Regions from separate parts of the Homo sapiens genome. Here all the other regions are linked to region 2. Evidence: promoter capture Hi-C in 16 types of primary human blood cells and fetal thymus (Javierre and others, 2016). All regions are on one chromosome and are shown on one strand. Each heading gives the region's core, a stretch centred on a gene start or on the middle of the fragment in contact. The rest is flanking DNA. Distances are from core to core; before and after follow the strand shown.

Region 1 (4,116 bases), core at 1-2,500, 280 kb before region 2:
CACTTTGTCATGAGGTTATTTCGCTTCTCTATTCTGGGAAAAACCACTGCAAGTGGAATGAAAAGTAACCGCAAAGGGAGGGGACGGAGGAAGTAAAAAACAGGCAAAACCACCACCACTACCATCACCACCACCACCACCAACCAGAAAGCAAAGGTGAAAAATTTGCGTACCCTGAAAACACTAAACATTTCACATCAGAACCCAGAACAAATAAACCAGGGAAAGCAGAGTTGAGAGAAAAAAAATGGTGCAGGCTTGGGGACGGACTCATACTACAGCGGTCGCAAGAGGGAAGAGCACGTCTTTGCTTTTTCTTGGCATCCGAAAACTCAAGCTCGAACTGGGGGCAAAGGCCAGCGGCTGCGGTTCCACCGGCTAAGGCGCACACATTCCCCGAGCTCAGACCGCACGCTGGCAGGGCCGATGGGGCTGGGCAGCCTCCCTCCACCCCGTGGCAGTCGCCTACCCCTTTGTCTCCCCGTGGGGCTCCGAGGCCGCGCGCCCGGAAGCCCCCCGCGGGAGGGCCGCGCGCGAGAAGGCGGGTTCCCGTGCCCGCCGCAGCGGCCACGGCCCTAGTCAGGCAATGCCGAGGCCGGTCGCTCGCCTCGCCGTCCCTCCCAACTTGCAGCCTGGACCCCGCGCGCGTCAGGGCTCGTCCCAGCTCTGCTTTCCTTTCTCCCCTCACCTCGCGAGGCCGACCTTGTGTTTGTTTTGTTTTTTGGGGCTCGGGAGAGTGCCGAGGGCTAGAAACAGCTGTGGTTTACCGCGCCGCTTATTTTGGCAAAAATTCCGGGCCTGTTGCAATGTTCCCCAGCGCCAAACAGCTCCCGCCTTCCCCCCAAGCAGAACCCGACACTCGAAGAAGGGCTTGCTCCTCCAGGGACCCCCTGATAAGAAAAGTGGGGACCACGGCCCGCTCTCGGGCGAGACTTGGGGGGTGGGCGACCGGAAGCAGCCGAACCGGCCGGGCAGGGCTTGCTCTCCAACGGGAGAGCGGGAGCGGGAGAGGTGGGAGCGCCCGCGGGCTCAAGTCCCCCGGGCCGCCGCGCCGAGGCGGAGCTCGGGGACGAAGCAGAGGTCGTGGCGGACAGCCGGCGGGCTTGGGGGGGGGCGGTGGGCGGCGATCCACCTGGGCGACGTGGCAGCCATTGCCGGCGCCTCGAGACCCCTCCCCACCCGGCCGCCCACCCGCCCTCTCGCGGCGGGCTTCTGCGCGGCTGCTCTTCCCCGGCCGGACGGAGAGCGGCAGTGTCTCCCCGCCGGGCGCGCTCGCCGTGTCTCCCCCGCGGCCGCAGCTGCTTGCTAGCCTTGCGCGGCGCGGGAGAGCGCAGTGGCGCCGGCGGGAAAGGGCTGCGGACCTGCGGCGCCGCGTTGTGCGTTCGACGACGCGGCACCGGCTTCGACGCCCTCTGCCCGCTCCAGAAGCAGGTAAAGGCGGCGGGTGGGAGGCAGGGAGGCGGGTCCAAGGTGAGGGCCCTGGAGGTTAGGGGTCCCGGGGCTCCGAGCCGAAGCGGAGGGCCTGAAGCAGCGGCGGGCGGCGCGGCGAATGAACCCCCAAGCCCTGAATGTGGGGCCCGGCGCGGGCCGCCTCCGATCTGACCCGCGGGCCCGGCTGCCCGGACGGAAGGGAAGTGAGGCGTCGGCGAGAGGCGGGCCCTGGCGCTCAGCCCGAGGCCGGGCGAAGGCGGGGGCCGCGGCCGCTTCCTTGGCCTCCGAGTGCCTGGCGGGCCTCCAGGCCCCAGACACACCCCTCTCGACCCCCCGAGGTTTCCTCCCAGATCTGTTCCCGCCGGGACCTGACCTTGCGCCCCTCCAGGCGCCTTAGGTGTTTGCCAGGCGGAGCCTTCTGGGAACTTCAGGCCACCTTCCTGAGCACATAGTCCTAGCAGAGCCGTTTATTTACTCAGTTCAAGTCCAGACACACAGCCACTCACACGTTCGGATTTTGGAGACTGCGGGGAGACTTTCCCCTCCCCGGCATTTGTGTGTCTTTGGCCCTCGTCCCGCCTCCCCTGCCCCCATCTGCAACTTTGTCCCTCAATGGGACCCTTCTAGAGCCCCTCTCTCATCGGGACTCTCTCTAAGCCGTCCGTTTGGAAATTCATCCTCAATAGAGTGAGTCATCTTAGCGGGGGCACAGTTTATCTCTCATGCGCTTTTGGTTAAAATAGTTTTTTTTTTCCCTCCGAAAGAGAGCTAGAGTAATAGAATGTAGATGACAGGTCAGTGTCAGTGTTGGCTTCAAAGGCTCTTCCTTTCGGCGGCAGTCTTTGTAACTAGGATCTGATATTTGTGGCACGGACAGGTTTGTACACATTCTCGCCATGCAGTGGTTGTAATGTCTCCATGGCACAGTTCTGGCTTGAAGGCAGGATTGGCTGCTTTTTCTACTCGACATCTTTGAGCCAATCAGCAAGGGCTGCTTGCCTGGAGACTGGTTAACTCAGTAAAGGTGGCCATTGGTTGAGCTCCTAGAAGAAAATCCTGGAGATGAACCTAGCCTCTCAGAAAACAATGACTGATTTGCAGCTGTATTAAAAAAATGTTTTCTTTTAATCCCAACATCAGCCTTTTCACTCCGTTTTTATTACTTCCAGTGTTTTTCTTTCAAACACCAGCTGTCTTTTGTAACTCGTTTTAACTCTCATCCTTTAATTTTAACTAAAAGACGCGCTTTAGGAAATGTAAACATCGTGTGTTCTGTGTTTTGATAAACGTGGTTCCATCTGCCTTTCTAACATTGTTTACTGCTAAAGGTCAGAAATAAACAGTTTTGAGTTTCGCTGCCAGGACCTTTTATTATTTAAGTGCCGTGCTAGGATGGGGGGTAGGAGCGAGGGGCTGTAGTGGTGGACATGGTGGGAAGAATAGGAAATAAATGGCTGCTCTTTTGCAAGGAGGCTACAATTTAGTTAATGAAAAAAGACTAACCTGTAAAACAATAAAGAATAAAGCAGTTGAAATCAGCACGCAGTACGTACGAATGCCAGTTTGTGTACTTGTTGACTTTAGTTAATTTGAAGGGGAGATAGAAGTACTGTATTTCATAGAAAAAGTGGGCTTAAGTTATGGTAGAGGCATGTTTTTTCCTTCATTAAAGTATATTAAAGTAGGCATAGTATCTTGTATGTACACAGTAGAAGCTAAATATTATCACTAGTTGCATGTTTTTTTTTTAGTATTTATTTTAAATCTAAATACTGTTACATAGTTGCATCTTATTTATTTATTTTTTTGAGACAAGGTCTGGCCGTATCGCCAAGGCTGGAGTGCAGTGGCACTATCTCAGCTCACTGCAACGTCTGCCTCCTGGGCTCAAGCCATCCTCCCACCTCGTCCCCTAGAGTAGCTGGGACTAGAGGCGAAAGCCACTACGCCCGGCTAATTTTTGTATTTTTTGTAGAGAGGAGGTTTCGCCATGTTGCCCAGGCTGGTCTCAAACCCCTGAGCTCAAGCAATCCAACTGCCTCCGCCTCCCAAAGTGCTGGGATTACAGGAGTGACCACCACGCCCGCCCGGCCGTTTTAAAACGCTGATTATTTTCCTTTTAAAATCTCCCTTTTCATCATGATTAGCCATGATTATGCATGTTTTTTGATATGCAAAGCAGCAACCATTTATTAGTTAATGAATTTCAGAAAAATAGCTATCTACCTTCTTTGCTTTCCTTTCAGCTTTTTATATGCAAAATCATATTGTAAGTCTTGGGAAGAATCAGTTGTCTATTAAATGCCTTTAGAAGTAGTTTATGTTAGGAATTTAAGAAGAGATTGAGCATTTTTTATGTATGTATGTATGTATGTATTTTGAGACAGAGCCTCACTCTGTCGCCCAGGCTGGAGTGCAGTGGCGCTATCTTGTCTCAGCCTCTGGAGTAGCTGGGATTACAGGTGCTCAACACCACACCTGGCTAACTTCTGTATTTTTAGTAGGGATGGGTTTTTGTCATGTTGGTGAGGCTGGTCTGTAACTCCTGGCCTCAAGTGATCCGCCCGCTTTGGCCTCCCAAAGTGCTAGGATTACAGACATGAGCCACCCCGCCTGGCCTTAGATTGAACACTTTTTTGATACCTACCTTGCCTGATAATGAGTAAGCATACATCAAGCCATGTA
Region 2 (4,032 bases), core at 1,308-3,807:
ATATCTAGGATAAATCCAGCAAATTTAGAAAGTAGAAGTGAAATAGGTCCTTGGGGATGGCATCCCATTGAGGTATCTCCTGCCATTTCAGTGAGTTGTGAAGCATTGGTTAGCATGCGTCATGGCTCTGAGTGCCTAGGACAGCACTCCTCTGTGAAGAGCCCAGCCTCCTGGGGAGGTTGAGGGTCTCTGGCATGGTTCTTGGTGGAGAGTCAGCATCCTTTACCCACCTTCCTGTGGGGCAGATCGAAGTCCCACCTGCCCTTGGCTGAAAGGAAGTGCATTCCCAAGCCTCCTAAAGGCACACTTGACCTTGATTTCCTCTGAGCTTCCTCACCAGATGAACTGGTGTTGTGTAAGGAGCACTGTATTGAGTCAGGACGATGGGTTATGTCCTTGCGAAGGCTTCTGACCTCTCTAGTCCTCAGTTTCTTTATCTGTAACATGAGTGACCTTAGCTAGATGGTCCTCAAAGAGCTCTTTACAGGTTAGAAGTGCTCTGATCCTGTACTTAATGAAATGGAGAAAATATTCATGCCATATTCATTTGCAGGGAAAAAATCCTTTGCAAAACATGATGTTTGACTCTTGTAATTTTTGTTTTAAAAAACACATGTAGCAGAATGAAGGTATTTGTTCTTCCCATCCCCACTCTGCTGCTGGGCAGAGGATATTTTAGCCATAGAATTCACTAGGATTCTTTGTCAGACAGGACTCTATTCTAAGGAATGGGAGCACTGCCATCATCCTCCTGGAATGGAGTCAGGGATGCCCCCCAGGACACTGGACCCCAATGGGCAAAGGTTCTCAGCAGCTTCAACCTAAAAGAGGCCCCTGAGGGGAGAAGGGACCCTGAAGGGAGGGGAGTGGTATAGGAAGGGAAGGGACACCATTCAAGGTAGGCCCTGTGTCAACTACAATTCAACCCTGTGAGTGCTGTAAGGAATCCAAGACATATGAGGTAAAGATCCTCTACACACAAGGAAGTCACCACCCAGCTGGCATCAAAAGCCATATTGATGAAAGACAACGAGAAGGAAGAGATGCATTGTTAGTGTTGCAGGGAGCACAGTGGATTGGGGCAGGTGGCCTGGATCCTGTCTCTGGCCGATCACTGCTGGAGGGAAGCCACTCTGCATCCCTGGGCCTCAGTTTCCTCATATAGAAGTGAGGCATTAAACTCAATTTCAAAATTACCTTCTGCCTCTGAGATTCTGGAGCGGATGGTTTGCTGAAGGAGGACTGAGCGTGGGCACCCGGAATTGTGTCATTTGATGAATGAGTCAGACTAGGGGCGTCAGAAAAATAATGTCTTCACAATCAACACAATGGGATAGGCAATTAAGAAACACTTTGCCGATGGCTTGAGTGTCTGTTCCACTCAGAGGATACATTCCCGAAGAGGGATGGGGTGACTCATCAGGCGGCTGTAACCTGATGAAACAGAGCTATCCAATTTCCTCGCTCCAATTCCAGGCAACCAAATTATCTTAATATGGTTTTCCAAAGCAGTTTCCCCAGGCAAGAGGAGAGACAGACATGAGTTTCCAGACTAAGCAGCAATTGAAAATTGACATTTTTTTATAGGAGTAAAATTATATCACATATGAGAAATGACTGAAACTTTATATGAAGTAGCATTCAAATGCAAAGGGTGTCATCATTAGCAATATCACCATTGGTTATTATTCTCATGCTGATTTGGTCAGCCTTTGAACCAGTTTTTCTTTTTTTTTTTCGAGCTGGTAAATCCTGGGTGACTTGGTGAGTATAGAAATTCTGGGTATGCAAAGCTGATCAAAGATGATAATTACTGATATTTAGAAAGTGCTTTCACATACAGTTATCTCAGTAGCTCTAGAGAGAGAAAATATTATTTTCCCCAGTCTGTAGTTCTGGAAGGCTCAGAGAGGTTAGGTGACTTTTACAGAATAATAGAGCTCGTCAGGGTTTGGCTGGCAGTCAAACCCAGGTGGTCAAGTCCAAATCCAACTCACAGTGTTGCTGCTTCTTAAGCGAGTGATTATCCGCCCATCCAGCACACCCCCTCACATATATACTCACAAACATTTACTATGCAAGATCCATGCCCAGTGGGACAGCTGCAGGAGGGATCAGAAGCTGAGGCAGAGAAAAAACCAAAATGCCAATATATTCTGGAGATCATAGAACCGTGTCTCTTTCCCTCTTCAAATGCTGCTAAAAGCACGTAGAGTCTTTCTGGACAGCCGTCCCATGGCTCAGTCTTTTAGGCTTCCCTTAGTCCCTGGACTCAGGCTGACTCTGCTCATGGTGGGTGTAGAAATCTCCCATTCTGCTTAGATGGAGTCTCTGGGGTGTCAGGCATACCCCTGTTGCCTGCATCTACCTCCTTTTCTGTCTGGTTGTTTCTGCTGAGGGTGGCTAGGGACCCTCAACTGAGATGGCCCCCCACAACAGCACTGTTGGACCTAACACACCCTGGGTTCCCGGCTTCTCAGCCACTGGAGCTGCCAGTCTCAAATTACCGGAGGGGAGGGAGGGCAGGCCTGGATCTCAGGATCTCGGTCCTGCATGCAATGCAAGCCTGAGCTCTCCCGCCATAAGGCTGCAGCGGTGTGGGCTCCTTGTGCCCAGATCCTTTGTATTCATAGGGGGAAGTGGAAGACCACGCTGCCTGACTGAGACTTTATTATAGAGGCTCAGGAAAAAGATGAACTGGTCCCATTCCTGCATCTCCTTTTGCTGGATCTACTTTGCTGCTTCCAGACTGAGAGGTGAGAGGCTGGTGACACGTAACCTATCTTGTCTCATCTGGGGCTATTGCTTTGGTGGGAGGTGGGGCAGGACAGGGAAGACAAAACAGATGATTCAACCGCATGGAAGTGTTCTGTGCTTCCTACTGACTCTGATCTTGGTAGGGCATGCCAGAAAAACAACTCATCCATCCACCCAAAGCTTGTCCCTCGCCAGTGTTGGGCCATCCCCCATTTTAGACCTCAGTCTTGTGTTGTTTGTCTTGAAATACACACAACACTCTGAATGTTAATCCAGATCCCTCTTGTTGAGTAGCTGCAGAGACGGCAGATGGAAAATATGCTCAGAAGTTGTTTAATGACCTTTTTGAAGATTATTCTAATGCTCTTCGTCCAGTGGAAGATACAGATAAAGTCCTGAATGTGACCCTGCAGATTACGCTCTCTCAGATTAAGGATATGGTGAGTAACACATGGTGCTGACTCTGTGGAATGATTCTTAGAGGATAAACAACCATGCTTTCTGAAGAGAATGTCTTAACTGGGAATTTGAGAGGGAATGATAGCTCCTTAAGCAAGCTGGTGGGAGAAGAGAATGTCGGGAAAAGGAAGCTTTCTACAAAACTAATTAATTTCAAGAAACGTTACCTAATCCTGGTCATTAACTGTAACAGTCTTAGATAATCTAAAGAAAGATGGGGTTACATACTGTATGCAGCCATTTATATAAAATGTCCAAAAGAGGTAAATCCGTAGAGACAGAAAACGGCATAGAGGTTGCCGGGGTCTGTGGGGAGGACGGGGAAAACGGCCAGTGAGTTCTTAATGATTACGGCGTTTCTTTGCGGGGGGAAGAAATGATCTTGAATTAGGCAGTGGTGATGGTTGCACAACGTTGTGAATATATTGGAAGCCGGTGCATTGTTCCCTTCGAAAATGATTAAAATGGTGAGTTTTAATGTGAATTTGATCTTAATTTTTTTTTTGAGACGGAGTCTTGCTGTCACCCAGGCTGGAGTGCAGTGGCATGATCTCCGCTCACTGTAAGCTCTGCCTCCTGGGTTCACACCATTCTCCTGCCTCAGCCTCCTGAGTAGCTGAGACTACAGGCACCCGCCACCACACCCGGCTAATTTTTTTTTTGTATTTTTAGTAGAGACAGGGTTTTACCGTGTTAGTCAGGATGGTCTCAATCTCCTGACCTCATGATTCGCCCGCCTCGGCCTCCCAAAGTGCTGGGATTACAGGCATGAGCCACCGCGCCCGGCCAATCTCAATTTTTTAAAAAAGGTAGTGT
Region 3 (4,389 bases), core at 1,308-3,807, 310 kb before region 2:
ATCAAATGAAATGAACAAGGATGATTACTGCAGTAGTGTTTGTGGAAAAACTGACTATACCCCAGGACAGCAAAAGATAAATGCAAGGGCCAGTGCGGTGGCTCACACCTATAATCCCAACACTTTGGGAGGCCAAGGTTGGTGGATCACTTGAGGTCAGGAATTTGAGACCAGCCCGGCCAACATAGTGAAATCCCATCTCTACTAAAAATTCAAAAAAAATTAGCCAGGTGTGGTGGCACACGCCTGTAATTCCAGCTTCTCTGGAGGCTGAGGCAGAAGAATTACTTGAACCTGGGAGGCAGAGGTTGCAGTGATTCGAGATCGCGCCATTGCATTCCAGCCCGTGTGACAGAGCGAGACTCCATCTCAAAAAACAAAACTAAACATAAATGCACTGTAACTTTGTCATACAAGGGAATATGAAAAGTAGTCAAATGGACTAAAGTTACCTATACAAACATGGAAAAATGTAAAAATTACCTCAAAATGGATTATAGATTTAGATGTGAAATGTAAAACTATAAGCTTTTAGAAGAAAACATAGGAGAAAATCTTCAAGACCTGTGCCTTGTTGAGGAATTCTTAGATGTGACACCAAAAGCACAATCCATAAAAAAACTGATAAATTGGACTTCATCAAAATTAAAAACTTTTGTTGTGATTTACCAATCACATATCTGATAAAGGACTCATATCTAGACTATACGAAGAATTTTCAACTCAACAGTAAATAAACAAAAACAAAACCAATTAGAAAATGAGTAAAACCCAGCCAGGCATGGTGGCTCACACTGGTAATCCCAGCACTTTGGGAGGCCAAGGTAGGAGGATTCCTTGATCCCAGGAGTTTGAGACCAGCCTAGACAACATTAATGAGACCCTCACCTCTACAAAAAATTAAAAAATTTAGCCAGGTGTAGTGACACACAACTGTAGTCCCAGCTTGGAAGGTTGAGGTGGGAGGATCACTTTAGCCCAGGAGGTTGAGGCTGCAGTTAACTGTGATCGTGCCACTGCACTCCAGCCTGGGTAACAGAGCAAGACTTTGTCTCAAAAAAATTAAAAAATTGGCCAGGCACAGTGACTCATACCTGTAATCCCTGCATTTTGGGAGGCTGAGGCGGGCAGATCACTGGAGGTCAGGAGTTCAAGACCAGCCTGTCCAACATGGTGAAAGCCTGTCTCTGCTAAAAATACAAAAATTGCCGGGCATGGTGGTGCTTGCCTGTAATCCCAGCTACTTGGGAGGCTGAGGCAGGAGAATTGCTTGAACCTGAGAGATGGAGGTTGCAGTGAGTTGAGATCGTGCCACTGCACTCTAACCTGGGTGACAGAGTGAGACTCTGTTTCAAAAAAGAAAAAAAGAAAGAAGAAAGGAGGACTCCAGGAGAGAATGAAAGTTGTGTTATGGTTGTCGGAAACTAAAACTAAATGCCCTGTAGAATTATCAATCATGTAAATCCAGAAACAGGCAATCCAGCTCATTTTGAGGAAATTACATAACTGGAATCAGGCCTTATGTATCCCTTTGAGACTGGCTTTTTCAGGCTGCATAATGCCCTAGAAAGCCACCTAAGTTTTTGCATGTATCAATAGGTTGTTCTTTTTTAATGCTGGGTATTCCATGGTATGGATGTACCACAGTCTATTTAACCATTCACCATTTTTTTAAAAACTATTTATTTATTTTATTTTGAGATGGAGTCTCGCTCTGTCACCCAGGCTGGAATGCAGTGGCACGATCTCGGCTCACTGCAACTTCTGCCTCCCAGGTTCAAGCGACTCTCCCACCTTAGCCTTCTGAGTAGCTGGGATTACAGGCGTGCGCCACCACACTCAGCTAATTTTTGTATTTTTAGTAGAGACAGAGTTTCACCATGTTGGCCAGGCTGGTCTCAAACTCTTGACCTCAAGTGATCCACCTGCCTTGGCTTCCCAAAGTGCTGGGATTACAGATGTGAACCACCATGCCCTGCTCGGTCTCTGTCTTTACTGTTGAAAGCTTTCCTCAAAGGTCTGATGATCCTTGAATATTTGGTCAGATTTTTAACTGAACCACTGCATAGCTGACTGGAAGCTCTGTGTGAGTGGGCAGGTCTTGTCAACTTGTGAGCTTATTTTTAGATTCCCTAGGTAGTCAGCCAGCTTTTGTGTTCAGGTATGTGTGTGGTACCCCAAATGACAGTATGTGTAGGTATTTTCTCTGTAGCAATTTACTTTATCTGGAGAAAAACTAATTTTCTGCTTGGCTATTGGCTTTGTAGCACTGGACTGAGGAATCTCACAGTTCAATATGTAGACCTTTTTTTGTTAAAAAAAAAAAAAGCAAGTACTACTAAACTAATCTTCTGCCTGGCTATTGGCTCTGTAGCACTGGACTGAGGAATTTCACAGTTCAATATGTAGACTTTTTTCCTTATTTTTTTTTCTGAGATGGAGTCTTGTCTGTCGCCCAGGCTGGAGTGCAGTGGCACGATCTTGGCTCACTGCAACCTCCGCCTCCTGGGTTCAAGCGATTCTCCTGCCTCAGCCTCCTGAGTAGCTGGGATTACAGGTGCACACCACCATGCCTGTCTAATAAAAATTAGACATTTTTAGTAGAGACGAGGTTTTACCATGTTGGTCAGGCTTGTGTTGAACTCCTGACCTTGTGATCCGCCCACCTTGGCCTCTATGCCTGGATGCCCTTTTTTTGTTAAAAAAAAAAAAAAAGAAAAAGAAAACAAAGCAAGTACTCTGGAAACTCTGTAGACTTTTTTTTTTTTTTTTTGAGATGGAGTCTCACTCTGTTGCCCAGGCTGCAGTACAGTGGCATGATCTCAGCTGACTGCAACCTCTTGCCTCCTGGGTTCAAGCAATTCTCCTGTCTTAGCCTCCTGAGTAGCTGAGATTACAGGCACCGGCCACCATGCCTGCTAAATTTTTTGTATTTTTAGTAGAGACAAGGTTTTACTATGTTGCCCTGGCTGGTCTCGAGCTCCTGACCTCAAGTGATCTGCCTGCCTTGGCCTCCCAAACTGCTGGGATTACAGCCGTGAGCCACCATACCCGGCCTGTAGACTTTCACGGAATTCTCACCCGATCTCTCTTCCTTCCTGCTGCTCCCTAAGCTTCTCAGATTGTTTCTCCCCAGAAAAAGTACTTGTGGGAGTGGGGAAGGGGTGGCTGCCTGACTGATGGGAGTGAGGGAAGGCTTCTAGGGCTGCTTTTCAGTCTTCAGACACCCCTCACTGTCTTCAGTGTCCTGTTCCTATTACTGCCTTCCAAAGTACCAGGCTTCAGTCCTTGAGTTGTCTTGCTTTTTGTGGGTCTTCTCCAACAAAGCTTGGCCTTCCTCTGCTCTGCTAATTTAGTCACCATTCCTCCATCTGCTTTTTGTTTTCAAGTGCTGTGAGTTTGCGGGGATAAATGTTTCCTAGTTTTATTGAAGATAGCGTTTGTGTTTCTGTTTCTTGTTCTGATTCTGTATTGGGGAAATTAAAAAAAAAAGTCTAGAAAGGTCAATGCTCAGCCATCTAAATCCTGGAAGCTGTGGAGGTGACTTCTAGCAATTCCCTCCATCATTCCTGTCCAAACATATTTCAAAAAAAATACAAAGAGTGTTCTGAAAGCAGTTCTGTCTGCCCATACTCTTTGCTCAGTGGCAGTGCCAAGTAGTGCTGTGCCTAACCATATTGGAGCCTGAGGCAAAAGAAAAAATTAGTAGCACTGATCTAATTTTTATTTAACATTTCAATATTTTGTTCATTATGGGGTTTTGCTGCACCTATTTTGACTTTTAAAAATATTGCACTGGCCAGGCGTGGTGGCTCACGCCTGTAATCCCAGCACTTTGGGAGGCCAAGGCGGGCGGATCACCTGAGGTTGGGAGTTCGAGACCAGCCTGACCAACATGGAGAAACCCCATCTCTACTAAAAATACAAAAAATTAGCTGGGCGTGGGGGCACATGCATGTAATCCCAGCTACTTGGGAGGCTGAGGCAGGATAATTGCTTGAACCTGGGAGGCAGAGGTTGCGGTGAGCTGAAATCATGCCATTGCACTCCAGCCTGGGCAACAACAGCAAAATTCTGTCTCAAAAAAAAAAAAAAAAGCATTAAAATACTATTTTAAGGCTGGGCATGGTGGCAAATGGCTGTAATCCCAGCACTTTGGGAGGCCGAGGTGAGTGGATCACCTGAGGTCAGGAGTTGAAGACCAGCCTGGCCAACGTGGTGAAACCCTGCCTTCATTAAAAGTACAAAAATGTGGGAGGCTGAGGTGGGCAGATCACGAGGTCAGGAGATCAAGACCATCTTGGCTAACATGGTGAAACCCCGTTTCTACTAAAAATACAAAAAATTAGCCAGGCGTGGTGGCGGGCGCCTGTAGTCCCAGCTACTCGG

What was found. Contacts are between HindIII fragments. The CHiCAGO score rates a contact against its expected background, and 5 or more counts as called.
Region 1: a contact is called between the fragment with the promoter of N4BP2 here and the fragment with the promoter of CHRNA9 in region 2, in 6 of 17 cell types (naive CD8 T cells, naive CD4 T cells, total CD8 T cells and 3 more). The highest score is 7.5, in naive CD8 T cells.
Region 3: a fragment that was not itself captured here is called in contact with the fragment with the promoter of CHRNA9 in region 2 in 1 of 17 cell types (M1 macrophages); the score reaches 5.8 in M1 macrophages.

The regions. Positions count from the first base shown.
Region 1 is chr4:40,055,600-40,059,715 of GRCh38, forward strand. N4BP2 (NEDD4 binding protein 2) reads left to right here and starts at 1,251. Exons shown (of 18, transcript NM_018177.6): 1 at 1,251-1,431. It also overlaps the pseudogene LOC344967. RefSeq lists silencers at 463-672, 1,013-1,472, 1,523-1,872 and enhancers at 2,063-2,112, 2,213-2,312. The HindIII fragment of the contact is 12,311 bases long and covers 1-4,116 here.
Region 2 is chr4:40,332,776-40,336,807 of GRCh38, forward strand. CHRNA9 (cholinergic receptor nicotinic alpha 9 subunit) reads left to right here and starts at 2,558. Exons shown (of 5, transcript NM_017581.4): 1 at 2,558-2,756; 2 at 3,052-3,197. The coding sequence starts at 2,693. The HindIII fragment of the contact is 7,151 bases long and covers 1-2,935 here.
Region 3 is chr4:40,024,841-40,029,229 of GRCh38, forward strand. No RefSeq gene overlaps it. Among named protein-coding and RNA genes, the nearest start is that of N4BP2, 30 kb to the right of the region's middle. The HindIII fragment of the contact is 1,108 bases long and covers 2,004-3,111 here.